3 separate regions of the Homo sapiens genome follow, and regions 1 and 2 are each linked to region 3. The links are contacts of gene promoters, found by promoter capture Hi-C in human tissues and cell types (Jung and others, 2019). All regions are on one chromosome and are shown on one strand. Each heading gives the region's core, a stretch centred on a gene start or on the middle of the fragment in contact. The rest is flanking DNA. Distances are from core to core; before and after follow the strand shown.

Region 1 (4,662 bases), core at 981-3,480, 50 kb after region 3:
ACAGGATTTAGAGAAAATGTAACTGGATACAGAACCATTTTTTCACCAAAAAATTTAAATATAAGTTATTAAAGGTTTATTAGAGAAACACTATAAATTATTACTTAGATAAAATTCTATTTCATGTGTTTTATTAAAATATGGCATTCTATATAATAAAAGGCCCTAACAATCATCTATTCTAAGCCAAACCTCTCTATAACTTAGTTTTCTTTAATAAAATCCATGTTATAATTAAAAATATTCCAACGGATGAGGAAGTTACTGCAATACCAATTATAAAACTGAACAAACCTACTTTTAGTTAATCACCTGTTGGACATTAATGTAAAATCCTTACCTAGAATTTGATTTACCACTTTTCAAAAATAAATTTATTGCTTAAAGCAAGGTATCCTGTGAAAATATATAAGAACAAAAGCTAGCATAATATTAGGTAGAATCTTTACATCCATCCTATGATTCACATAAGATATTTTAATTTAAAAATAACCTATTAGAGATAGTTGATGAGACTCAACAGGCTGATGAGATTTACAGTCTTGAACACAATCATCAGAACCAGAAAGCATACTGTTTGTGTAAACAGCTTCCATTAATTCTACGCTTAGATTAGTTATGTAGGAAACACTTATGAATTACACAAATCCTACATAATTTGAGTAAAAAAACTCTTAAACACCTATGTCTTGCCTGTATCCATACTTACTATATAGTAATACACTAATTTAAATTACCATTGAGAAAAAGATACTTTTAACTGAGAAAAAAACAACCCATTAATAAAGTCATCACAGCACAAACTCACAAACATGATCGAACACACACAGTTGCGTGGTTACCTGAGCATGCTGTGAAGAATCGCTATAGCATGGGGTGGAACTGGGAGGGGAGGTGGATGAGTAAACTACTGACTGATGGGGACCTGAGGTCTGGATTAAAAATGAATCTGGAGATGGCTAAAATAATAAAACAAAAGGATGACAGGAAATCAAAACCAATGACGGAAGCATAGAGACTGTCAGCCAGCATACAGAATTACAAAACCAGAAAAAATATATATACATACACAACTGTTTTTACGAATTCTCTGGACAGAAATAAGCACAAGCCCACAAATAAAACAGTCAAAGAGTTTAAAATGTTACCTAATTAGTAGATGATGTAAATTATAAAAACAGTATTTCAAAACACTGCAAAATAGACTAGTTACCACCTCATATGCCACTAAAATGATTCACCGTCGATTTAATTGCATGCTGGCTAACAACACAACTAAAAACGAAAATAGATGGTAACGGGAAAAAATATGATAGAAGCACAGTTAAAAAGCAAATGGTGTAAATATGAAATATTTCATTGACAACACACTGACAAATTCTAAATATACAAGATAGTTTGGTTTTTTTTTAGATAAAGATGGGGTTCTCACTATGTTGCCCAGGTTGGTCTCTTAACTCCTAGCTCAAGCAATCCTCCCACCTTGGCCTCTCCAAAGTGCTGGGATTACAGGCGTGAAATACCATGCCAGGCCCAAAGGAAAGTTTTAAACATTCCTCAGATCTGCACACTTTGCAAACACCAAACACCAGAAGGTCATTGCATTTCCAGGTGAGAGGTGACCCTAAGCTGTGAAGGGAAGAAGCCCATCTGCTTCCTTAGGGAGCCACGAAGCAGCTGGCTTGTTCACGGCTTCAAATGCAGAACCCATTTCATGTTTTTCCTTTTTTTTTTTTTTTTTTTTTTGGTAGTAGATGCCCAGGAAGCTGGTTGGGCACTCCGAAAGGAAAGAAATGCACTGACCCACTTTGTGCATTTTCCCATATGCTCTGATGTCTGCCTTTATTTACTTTTGCTAAGTGGTTTTTCCTATAAAACAGAAAATATTTCCCCTTCTGGCTGCTGTACTTTGCACAGATGTCATGCCTAATGTCACACAAACAAATGGTGTAATGCTAGCCTGGTCATCCAAATATTAAAATTTTTTTTTATATTTTTTGGGATTTGTTTTGAGACAGGGTCTCACTCTGCTGCCCAGGCTGGAGGGCAGTGATGCAATCATGGCTCACTGTAGCCTCGACCTCCTGGGCTCAGGTGATCCTCCCACCTCAACCTCCAGAGTAGCTGGGACTACAGGCACACACCACCAGGCCCAGCTACTTTTTGTAAAGATGGGGTTTTGCCATGTTGCCCAGCTGGTTTTGACCTCCTGGGCTCAAGTGATCTGCCCACCTCAGTCTCCCAAAGTGTGAGGAATCACAGGCATGAGCCACCACGCCCGGCCCCAGATATTAAAATTAGTTTGTCATAACTGAATGATTAAATAGTAACTAGTTTTTATAATCTTGAACCTCTTAGAATAACGAATGTACTTGATTTTCTTGTGGGTAGATTTGTAGTGTCCAAGATTTCATACAGGTATGCTGAGGGCAGCCACAGCAGGGAAAGGGCGGATACGTACAAGGGTCATGACGCCCAGTCTGTCCACTTCCCGAGCTGGGCTGTGAGGGATCCTTCGTGGGGTGGAGCGCCCACTGCCCGGAGGGGAGGAGCTAGCAAGCGAGGAAGCAGGGTAGGGGGGAATGGAGCTCATTGATCTAAAACGACCAAGATTGTCTAGACTTCCACTGCCAACTCGACTTTCAATCTCCTCTGCCCGCTGCTCTGTATTTTCTTTTTCTTCCTGAATCAACCTAAAATAAAACAAAAGCAGTCAGTCCTCCTGTTTCGGCAAACAGATTAATGTGTTTGCATGAGAAAAACCATGCTTATACTCTGTATTACTATGAGTAAACTCCAGTAATAAGCTGCTCAAACAATGAACACTTCAGCAAAAATGTTCTACTCTTTTTAAATTTTTATTTATTTATTTTTCTTTTGAGATGGAGTCTCGCTCTGTTGCCCAGGCTAGAGTGCAGTGGCGCGATCTCGGCTCACTGCAACCTCTGCCTCCTGGGTTCAAATAATTCTCCTGCCTCAGCCTCCTGAGTAGCTGGGATTACAGGCGCGTGCCACCATGCCCGGCTAATTTTTCGTATTTTTAGTAGACACGGGGTTTCACCATGTTGGCCAGGCTGGTCTCGAACTTCCAACCTCGTGATCCGCCTGCCTCGGCCTCCCAAAGTAGTGGGATTACAGGCGCGAGCCACAGCTCCTGGCCAAATTTTTTATTTTTTCAGACAGGGTCTCACACTGTCATCCCGGCTGGAGTGCAGTAGCATGATCACAGCTCACTGCAGCCTCGAACTCCTGGACTCAAGGGATCCTCCTGCCTCAGCCTCCCAAGTAGCTGGGGCAACAGGTATGCACTACCACGCCTGGCTCATCTTTTAAAATTTTTTTTGTAGAGACAAGGTCTTCCTATGTTGCCAAGGCTGGTCTCAAACTCCTGACTTCAAGACATCCTCCAACCTCAGCCTCCTCCCAAAGTGGTGGGATTACTGGCATGAGCCACCACACTGGCCTCAATCTTTTTTAATATACTACATCTTACAACAACAAAAAGTAAACCTTCCATTGAGTCTTGTTGGTTCTGGATATCATTAACATTTGATTTTACTTATTTACACAAAAATTCTGGAGAAGGCTGGATGGCAATTTTTCCTATGGTTGCAATTAATAATTTCCTTACTAAGTGATATTTTAAAATTTTATGACCCTTATCTCCCCTATTCTTAGAGCAAAGCTGAAGAAATCTACAGATTTCTTCAACTGGAAATCAGGAACTCTAATATAAAGAACAGATGCACAAAACAATTAGGAGTTTCCCAACACTTAACTGTTTAGACTAAACGAAAATATTGAGTTGGTTCTTTTTTTTAGTTTAAATTTGAACCAGAGCGTTATCTGATGGGATTCTCTACCATCCTCATGTAAATTTCTGGATTCATGCCAACCATGCTACATTAATTTGGAATTCAAGATTAACGCTCCTCTCTCCTAGAGTGTCATGGATCACTAGACAGCAGTTTTAATATTTGACTGTGCCAATAATAATTATTCTAGTATTAAAATATAGAAACCTTGCAATAACCCTTCCAATTAAAGTTCTACTTACATTTCTAAGAAAAGTGCTTTTTGATCATTATTAATAGAAGAAAATCCACAAGTCAGTGGACAGAACACTTACATCAGGTCAACTTTCTGCATAAAGAGGAAACACTTTTATCTAGCTATACATCATAAGAAATAAAAACAAAAGGTATATAATCCTTTCCCAGCTCCCATAATGATGAGGAAAGACGATCTTTCTGAACGCTTCATCACACTAATTATTTTGCACCTCCTCCTTCAAAGGGCCCCCATGCCTGGCAACAGATGCTGCAGAGGTCTCTTCGCCAGTTTTCAAGGTGGCACATGAAATGGGAGTTATAAAGTCAAAAACACAGGCAGCACACCAACTTCTTACTTCAGAATGTACAGCCCTATTTTTTTCTTTTTAATAAAAAAAAAAAGCTGGAGTAACACAGCTCTTGTTGATGTTTCTCTCAACCTTCTCTTCTTTACCTCCTGTTCTCTCTGACCAGGACTGGCACCTCCACCCACGTAAACTTCACAAGCAAGTCGTGGCAGCACCCCACCCAGACCTGCTGCAGGACTCCACACACACACCTGCTCCTCCCTTGGATTCAGGCTAGCCAAGCAGCACGTCAGGCCAGGGCC
Region 2 (4,628 bases), core at 1,738-4,237, 33 kb after region 3:
CAATGAACTGAAAATTGAAATTTAAAAAGTATCATTTACAGTGGCATCAAAACCTGCAAAATCCTCAGGGATAAATCTAACAGAATGCATGCAAAATGTGTACAATGAAAAAGAACTAACACATTCTATACACACACATATCGAAGGAAGGTACCCGAGGTACCTGAAGTCTGCAGCTGAGGAAGACTAAGTTATGGTCACCAGTCATAGCTACCTTATGGTATCTTTGTAGTGACTCTCAACTAACACCATGTTGGTCTTGAAACTATGGCTTCCAGTATCATTTGTTATTTGGTCCAAACTAGAAGCAATAACTCAAATTCTAAATTTAAGTTAAGCAATAACTCAAATTCTCTAATTTAAACAAAGAATGTTTAAATTCTACTAGAAAAAAATGCTTCACTACCTTCTCTAAAAAGAGAGAAATATGCCAAACATTTTTGGGTAATTATCAGCTATCTAACAGCATCACCATGCTTGATTCACTCTTCTAAACCTTACCCTTACAGGCCTGATATTTATTTATTTATTTAGAGACAGGGTCTCGCTCTGTCACCCAGGCTGGAGTGTAGTGGCATGATCTCGGCTCACTGTAACGTCCACTTTCCGGGCTCAAGCGATTTTCCAGCCTAAGCCTCCCAAACAGCTGGGACTACAGTCTCAAGCCAACAATACCTGGCTAATTTTTATATTTTTTGTAGAGACAGGGTTTCCCCACGTTGCCCAGGCTGGTCTTGAACTCCTGGGCTGAAAGCGATCCACCTGCCTCAGCCTCCCAAAGTGCTGGGATTACAGGTGTGAGCCACTACACCTGGCCTAGGCCTGATACATGTAGCAGGGATATCTGGTATTATTCTCTTGCTTGCTGATTATGTATTCTTAAATGGGGAAATTAAACAAAGGAATTGTCTAAATAGAAAACTGCATGGAAGCAGAACCCTACTTGTTTCTGTTTCCTCATTATATGCTCTGCTCAGACTCCTGAAGTGGCCTATAACATGAACTCCCAGAAGGATCAGGCTCCATCCCAGGGAGACCCACCTCTTCTCCTGGGCTGCCTTAGCAGCCTTCTGGAAAAAAAACATACCAGGTGATGTCAGTCCAGAGAACATCTGAACTAGAAGAGACACCCACTGCACAGTGTTTACTCCCAGCACTGAAACAGCCACAAGTACAACCCAGTCTTATGAACTCCATAAAATGGGAGCTCCATGACGGGGGGACCATGGGTGTCCTGCTCATAGATGCTCCACGCAGCCAGCACTCTTACTAATTTTGTTAAATGAGGTATAAATGGTTTTGACCACGCCTTGATGTCTTCCTCCCCTAGTCTCTCGGCGCAGCTCAAAGTTCTCCCTGGTTTAAGAGCTGGCCACTGTGTACTGCCCTTGGCAGCAGGTGGCAGTCCCATCTGGAAGACAGGAAGGAGGGAAAAGTGATACGAGCTTCCACTAGACTGCATGTCGGCTAGTTCTGGAGTCATCACCACAGCTCAGTCTTGTTTATATTTCCACCGCAAAGAGCAAGGTTAAGCTTATTTAATTTACACTTCCTGTCCCTGACTCAGGCAATTTCATACTGAAGTATTAACCAAATTCTGCTCCTTGGTGGAAAATATACTGAAATTTAAGTAATTATGAAATGTACCCTGTATAATTCATTTATGGTCATTATTGGTCCTATAAAGGGATATCTAACAAGTTAAACAATGAGGTTATTTATCTGGAGGAGAGGCACAGAATGCTTAAATCAAGAGAGAAAAAAGCCCACAGAATCACATTATAGCTACTCTATTTTGTTAAAAAATACAAATAAAAAATAAAAATAAAAAAAGGTGGGGGGACAGTCTAATGAGCTAGATTTTAGGAGTACCAAGAGAAGGAAACAGCTGCTTCAACCATCACCTCGTAATCAGGAAAATTATGATTTAAAATCCTTTTGATTCTTTTCAGATATATAATGATTATTCTGAAGCCCTCAAATACAGTCCATTCGGGAAAGCCTCTAGAACTGCCTGTCCACGCCTCATGGCTGCAATGTGCCACTGAGACATACACCCTGACCACAGAAGGCCAGTGGCGTCGCACGACATTTCGGCAAGCTGTCTGAACATACAGAATGCAAAACAGTTGGGATAGAGTTTTTGGTGAGTTAAAGAATTGAGAAGCTGAAAATTCAAATATACAGTACTCAAGAAGAGGCTTAATTCCTTAGGATTCCATTAGTAAGAAAATCTTTAAGTGGACATAGTATTAGGATAGTATTTAGTAAAAAATCAACACAAAGGCACAGAGGAAAAGTCATTATGCCAATTTTTGTGTTTGGAAATTTATTAGAGCACAATTTCCCTATCAGTATATCTTGTAATAACATTACCCTACCAGGAAATTACATACATAATCTCAGAAGCTGCCTAAGCCACAAGACTTTGTATACAAGATCATATGTTAAACAAAGCAATCTATATTAATTAAAAATAACTGCCATGGCACCATATGAGAAATGTTCAAAATTGTCCATGAGACGTACTCTTTGATGCTATGTTTTGCTTGACCAGTGCTTTCAAATCATTAACAATCCTGTACTCCGAATAAACTAAGATGCTATAAACATCAAAAAAAGTAGATTACACAAGTTTTCATACTCCAATTGCTTTTTGCTGCTGTACATGTAGTGAAGAATATATTAGAGAAAGACTCCAACCTGAGCCCAGCTTCCCTCCTCATCTTCCTGGGGTTACGTGGTTAGGAATGCAAAAGAACATAACTATTAGTATTGGTGAGCTCGGTAATGCAGGCAACGCAACTCTGCAGGGAAGATGCAGCTTCACTGAGTGAAAAAGTTCAGACTATCAAAGCATCATGCAAAACTCATGCAAAACCAACAATTTCAACTTCTCATGCAAGGAGCAGACTCTCTCCGTGCCAAGCATATTCATGGAAGGAGAAAGGGCCACACAGTCAGTCACATGGAGGCTCAACTGAGATCTCTCCAAAAGGAGAGCTAGATTAAAGCTATTCTAAAAGACAGAGTCTACCAACTTGAAGTTCCTGGAAAAAATCTAAAATAAAATACAAATTCTACTTACACATTTCAACTAATAACTAAAGGAAATACTTATCTGGAACGACTGAATGGAAAACAACATTTTGTTTTCAACAAAAAGGCAAAGAACCCAGACGGTCTTAAGTGGAAAACGCGCTGGGAGGAGTGCAGGCTGTGGGGCGTGACTAACCGTTTGCGGCGTGGCTGCGAGCGTTTCCATCTCTTCGTGTGTTAACCAGACATTTCCTGTGGTCTAAGGTGACCCCAGTGCACCAACCACATCCAGGGCAAGGGAAGCAGTGACAAAGAGGAGAGGGGCACACGCATAAGCCACAGGCACAGAGAAGGGGCCGAGGAGGCAAAGTTCGCTCTTCTCACTTTTCAGTTCAGATGCCCGTACAGAATAACCATTCCCTGTTAACACTGGGTCGTCAACACCATCAGGAGAAGAGCACACGATGACGAGAGCTTTAGATGCCATGCTTACCCGAGGTATGTGAAATATCAAGAGAAGAAAACACGTTGTGTACTTCTGGAAACTTTGAGTAATTCTCAAGTAACTATTGATTCAATATATTTAAAGCAGATTAACAACAAAGAACCCAGCATGAAACTCTTGCTTTGGCTATTGGAGGGCTTTCTCGCAGATGTTCCGTGACGGCCTGAAAGGCTGAAGGCAGGCCACAGGGCAGAGGGGGTCACTGCTAAGCAGTGTCGATGGCTCTGTGCAGCCATCAGAACCAGACACGAGACAGACAGTGGCCTGTGTGTCTACTTGAGGGAGATTTTTTCCTTGCATTTTGACATGGTGTGAAGAGTCTGCCTTATGTGAGGTGTTCTCCATCATTACTGAAGACAGTGGATAAACATGGGAGAAACCACTCAGCACCTTCATTTTCAGCAAGGCCACTGTCATGTGAAACAACCAGGGAAGAGCTCAGACACTGCTCCTGAGGCAGGCTGTGGGAAAGGAGCTCTTGGAGCAACAGGGGAGGACAAAGCTTATTGTTCATCACCATAATTTGTTCATTAAGAAGAAAAAAATAAATAAAACAAGTAAAACCCCTCAAAACTTTTTTTGTAAGGTAACTGGGAGCCCTAAATCCAGCGCTGACGTGCTCCTTGGAGAAATGTGTGAGGCTCTTCATTGCAACAAGAATTTGTTTTCTCCTGAGGAGACTAAAAGCAGAGACTGGGAATCCAGCCAGTGTAAAAAGTCTCAACTTTATAAATCTGGAGTTGGCCTGCCCTTATCTCCCAATAACCATTCTTGTTTTTATTAACATAGTTCTTCTTTTTCAAGTAGGATAACCCTTCTTAAGGACTTTGAGGGACTTCCCACATGGAGAGAAACTGTATAAGTACAGCTCATGTTGGATGAACATTTGCAGATTTGTGAACTGCTTGAAATCCTGAGCTCCCAGGGTCTTTAGCTCCCCAAATGGAAAACACCTACAGGCCAAATAAATCAAATACAGTAAAACACTGGTTACAAGGCAACCAGTGATCTCATCTTTATTTTCCCCTTTAGTTTTTATTTTAAAAAATGTCCGCAAACTGGAATGATGGGGAAGGGAGGATTA
Region 3 (4,913 bases), core at 982-3,481:
ATACTGCAACACAAGGCAGCAACCAGCGCTCACAGCAATTCACACTCTCAGGACACCTTTTCTGAGCACCTACTGCGTGGCACAGACTGAAGATCTGAATTGCCGATTATGTGTGCTGTCATTTTAAAAGTGTTTTAAAAACAAGTCCATCAAAATGCTACAATTAAAAGTCAGCTTTAGCTGGGCCTGCAGTCCCAGCTACTTGGGAGGCTGAGGTGGGAGGATCGCTTAAGGCCAGCAGTTCAAGGTTGCAGTGTGCTAGATGGCACCTGTGAAGAGCCTCTGCACTCCAGCCTGGGTGACAGGGTCTCGCTCTGTCACCCAGGCTGGAGTACAGTGGTGCGATCGAGCTCAATGCAGCCTCCAACTCCTGGGCTTGAGATCCTCTGCCTCAGCGCCCCAAGTAGCTAGGACAACAGGTGCAAGCCAACATGCCCAGCGAATTTCTTTTTTTGTAGACACAAGGTCTCCCTGTGTTGCCCAGGCTAGTCTGGAACTCCTGGCCTCAAACGATCCTCTCACCTTGACCTCCCAAAGTGCAGGGATTACAGGTGTGAGCCACCGCACCCCTGCCCCAGGTCAAAAGAAATTTCTTTTCAGTAAGATATAGCAGAAGGTTAGCTTCTAGTTCTAGGGGACCTAATATCAAAACAACCCTGCCTCCCCAACTTTTTATTGAGTCCCACTTAAAAGACTCTTCCTTGTTCCTTGAGTATCTGGCGAATACTTCTCTAACCAGAGGAGAAACAGGACTGACTCAGTGCTCTGGAGCCAGTGACTCACCCACACGGTCAAACACGTGAATGGAGACAGGGGCAGGCGGCCAGCCCCTCCTGCGCCACGGCCTTGGGCCCGGCCGGGCTTGAGGGCTGGATCATGCCTGAAGGACCTAGTGGGTGAAGTCCCCCCGACAGAGCCTGCGCAGCCAAGTCAACACTGAGCCCAAAGGGAGCGCATGGGATTCCAGGGAGCGCTCACCGGATGCCTCCGGAGCTTCCTTCAGCAGAAAATGAATTCCTCCCCAAGGGGCCCCAAACGTCCACAGATTCCAGCGGGAGGAAGCCCTGTCCCTTCTCACCCAAGGCCTTCCAGCTTCAGGGATCAGGCATCCCTTAGACTATCCAGGTGATGGAAACGTAACAGAAAGCCCCAAAGCACCGTTCTGGTGATTTTAAACACACCCCGAAGGAGGGACGGTTCCAAATTTAGAGCCTCACGACTAGCTGCAGCCGCGCCTCGCTGCCTCCACTGACCTGATTGCAAAACCTCCGCTCAGGTGCAGGCCGGGCGGATCCCCAGCTGCTCCGCCACGTCCCACAGCGAGCCCCTCAAAGTCGCGCACCCCAACCGCCTTGACCCCGCGGACCCCATCCCTTTTCCCTGCGCCTGGATCCCTTCCCCTGGAGCCCCAATCCCCTCCCCTCGGACCCTATACCTTTCCTCCGAGCCCCGACCCCTTCCCCTCGAACCCCAATTCCCTTCCCTCGGACCCCATCCCAGTAGCTCTGCGCCTGGACCCCTTCCCGTCAGACCCCAATCTCCTCCCCTCGGACCTCATCCCTTTCCCTCTGCACCCAGACACCTCCCTCTCAGACCCCTCGCCCTTTCCTTGAGACCCCCCACACCCACCTTCCTTGGCCCCTCGAACCCCGGCCCCCTCCGCTCAGACCCCCGAACCCCACAGGCCCAGCCCCTCTCCCTCGGGCCCTAATACCCTCCCCCTCGGAGCCCATCCCCCTCTCCTATTCCCTCGGACCCAAGACCCCTCCCAGCCTGGCCCCTCTCCTGCCCTGGAGCCCCCCGGCGCCCAGGGACCCTCCCCTCAGAGCTGATACCCCAATTTGGCCCCTTTCTAACCTTCCTCCGCGGACCCCAGCCCCAAGCCCTCCGTGCCCCCTTGCCCCCTGCCCGGCCTCCTTGGGCCCAGACCCGTCCTCGTGGCCCTCGCGGACCCCCGGCCCTCGCCCTGCCCCGCCCCAGGCCGGGAAAGCCTCGCCACTCTGCCCCGGCCCCCGAAACCGCAAGCGGAAGAGCGGTGAGACCGCTGCGGCCGCCGCTTCCTTCCCCTTTCGCGGCCAGGCGACGCCACAGGAGGGAAGAAGCAGAGCCCGGCCTGCACCCCGGGCGGACGCCGCGCTCGCTCACCGCCGCCTGGGGTCGGTCCGGCCCGGGTCGGCCCTGGATTCCGCCGCGCCAGCCGCTCCCAGGCACCAGGCTCTACTTCCGGTTCCGAGGGCGGGGGCGGGGCCGCATCCGGGTCCCCGCGCGACCCCGCCCCCTGCCCCGCCTCCTCCCGCGTCTTGGCCCGCAAGAGTCCCGGGGGTCCGCCCGCAGCTGGCTAAGCGCTAGCCCGGCCTGTGGCGAGTCTGCAGAGCTCGCCCGGAAGTAGCGTTGCGCGCGCAGAGGATGGGCGCTGAGCAGCACACAGCCCGCGGCGGGGTCTCAGGATCCGCGGCGCTGCCCGGGGCCGGGGGAAGGAAGCCAGCCGAGGAGACGCACGTGCCCTGAGTCCGGGAGCGGGGAGCCTCTTCATCTCTCCATCCTCCCTCCGCGCGCGCCCTCAGCCGTCCTCGTCCGCTCACCATGCACCTCCCCTCCAAGAAAGGGCCACATGCGTGCCAGGGACGCGAGCCCCGGCCACAGGGACATAGCAGCCTAGAAGGTGAGTCAAGCGTTAAACCACATGGGTACTCACCTGGGAAATGAGATAAATGCCAAGAAGTGAGAGTTTCATAACATCGTATTGGGGAGACGGTAGGACCTGAACCCCTGGGAGACCAGAGGTTTCTTTGGGCGATTCACATGTTAGCCAAGATGTGAAGGCCCTATAAGAGTAAACAAGGTAAGGAGGGAAGAATTTTCCAGGCAGGCCAACAGCAGGTTCCAACAGCAGGGCCAACAGAGGTCCCAAGGCAGGAACGGTCTTGCAGCAGGGGAACTGGAGGAGGCTCAGCTCAGCATGGTAGAGGGCTAGTGGTGCAGCGGAGCTGTGGTGTGAGAGGGGCCAGGTCATGCAGAGGCCGATAGAGCACAGCGAAGACCTCGGTCTTTATTCTGGGAGACACGGGAAGTCCTCGGAGGAAGTTAAGCTGATAAGAGACATCATGAAGTTTGGGCCAGGCGCAGTGGCCCACGCCTGTAATCATAACACTTTGGGAGGCTGACATGGGAGGATCGCCTAAGGCCAGGAGTTCGAGACCAGCCTGGTCAGCATAGTGAGACCCTCGCCCCCGCCCGCCATCGCTAAATAAATAAATAAGACATAATGAAGTTTGAATTGTAATGAGATCACTCTGGCTGCTGTGTGGAAGATGGATGGGAGAAGGGCCAGGTAGAGCCTAATGTAGCCAATTCGGGCAGACCGCTGGTGGCAGGTAAGATGGGGAGAAGTGGATAGATGCAAGAGGCATTTAGAAAGCTAAACTGTCAGATGTGAGGATGAATTGGAAGTGCGGGTGGCGGAAGGAAATGTCAGGTGTTGACCATTTTTTTAAAGGTAAAATCATGACCTTCATACACATATAAAATGAACACGTCAAATATTTTATTTAACTCGATAATGAATACATCATAAGTTGTTACAAATTGTTTAAAGAATTTGGCCAGATGCAGTGCCTCGCGCCTGTAATCCCAACACTTTGGGAGGCCAAGGCAGGAGGATTGCTGGAGGTCAGGAATTTGAGACCAGCCTGGGCAGCATGGCAAGACCCTGTCTCTACCAAAAAAAAAAAATTTTTTTTAAGAAAAAAATTAGCCAGGCATGGTGACGTTTACCTGTGGTCCCAGCTATTCTGGAGGCTGAGGCAAAAGGACCGCTCCGGCACGGGCAACAGAAACCCTGTGTCAAAAAAAAAAAAAACGGAAGACGAATGCTGAAATGAATTTGCAAAAACTGCTCTATCTCTAGTGCAAAGGTCAATTGCATTTAACTGGACACAGCTAATTTGCATTTTCTGTGCACAAGGATTGTTGGCCAGGCTTGTAATACCAGCACTTTGAGCGGCAAGGCCAGAGGATTGCTTGAGCCCAGGAGTTCAAGACCAGCCTGGGCAATATAGACCCCATCTCTGAAAAAAAAAATTTTTTTTTTTACATTGCTGACTGTTTTTTTTTGTTTGTTTGTTTAATCTTTAGAGACAGGGGCTGGAGTGCAGTGGTGCAATCAAGGCTCACTGCAGCCTCGATCTCCTGGGCTCAAGTGATCCTCCCACCTCAGCCTCCCAAGTAGCTGTAGCTGGAACTACAGGCACGTGCCACCACACTCAGCTAATTTTTTTTTTTTTGAGATGGAGTTCCCCTCTTGTTGCCCAGGCTGGAGTGCAATGGCGCCATCTCAGCTCACTGCAACCTCTGCCTCTCGGGTTCAAGCAATTCTCCTGCCTCAGCCTCCCGAGTAGCTGGGATTACAGGCGTGCGTCACTTTGCCTGGCTAATTTTGTATTTTCAGTAGAGACAGGGTTTCTCCATGTTGGTCAGGCTGGTCTCGAACTCCCGACCTCAGGTGATCCTCCCGCCTCGGCCTCCCAAAGTGCTGGGATTACAGGCGTGAGCCACCATGCCCGGCCTCTAATTTTTTAATATTTTTGTAGATACTGGGTCCTGCTGTGTTGCTAATGCTGGTCTCGAACTCCTGTGCTCAAGTGACCCTCCTGCACTGGGATTACATGTGTGAGCCACCACATTGCCAGGCCACATTGCTGCCTGTTTTTTAAAGGTTAATTTCTGCCTCTACAGAGGTATGAAATCATCTAGTCAAAAAAGCAGGCATAGCCGGTGGTGTCCATCTCAGAGGGAGCCCTGTGACTGTATTGATCCAGCACAAACCCCTCCTCTCAAGTCCCTCACTGTGTCACACCTTTTGCCATAAGAGGTCATAGTCATAGGTGCTGAGGATTAGGCTGTGGACATATCTT

The links. Contacts are between HindIII fragments. The study calls those that stand out against the background at their distance.
Region 1: a contact is called between a fragment that was not itself captured here and the fragment with the promoter of CTTN in region 3, in 1 of the 25 tissues and cell types used here (mesenchymal stem cells).
Region 2: a contact is called between a fragment that was not itself captured here and the fragment with the promoter of CTTN in region 3, in 7 of the 25 tissues and cell types used here (IMR-90 fibroblasts, lymphoblastoid cells, mesendoderm cells and 4 more).

The regions. Positions count from the first base shown.
Region 1 is chr11:70,346,220-70,350,881 of GRCh38, reverse strand. It overlaps PPFIA1 (PPFI scaffold protein A1), which reads right to left. Exons shown (of 28, transcript NM_003626.5): 16 at 2,462-2,693. Among named protein-coding and RNA genes, the nearest start is that of CTTN-DT, 50 kb to the left of the region's middle. The HindIII fragment of the contact is 7,431 bases long and covers 1-4,662 here.
Region 2 is chr11:70,364,043-70,368,670 of GRCh38, reverse strand. The region is part of intron 21 of PPFIA1 (PPFI scaffold protein A1); the gene reads right to left. CTTN-DT (CTTN divergent transcript) reads left to right here. Exons shown (of 3, transcript NR_186321.1): 3 at 1,953-4,628. Among named protein-coding and RNA genes, the nearest start is that of CTTN-DT, 32 kb to the left of the region's middle. The HindIII fragment of the contact is 5,452 bases long and covers 262-4,628 here.
Region 3 is chr11:70,395,847-70,400,759 of GRCh38, reverse strand. CTTN (cortactin) reads right to left here and starts at 2,231. Exons shown (of 18, transcript NM_005231.4): 1 at 2,146-2,231. It overlaps CTTN-DT (CTTN divergent transcript), which reads left to right and starts at 2,298. Exons shown (of 3, transcript NR_186321.1): 1 at 2,298-2,662. RefSeq lists enhancers at 1-17, 2,866-2,935 and silencers at 1,305-1,374, 1,956-2,465, 2,566-2,615, 3,713-3,901. The HindIII fragment of the contact is 28,316 bases long and covers 1-4,913 here.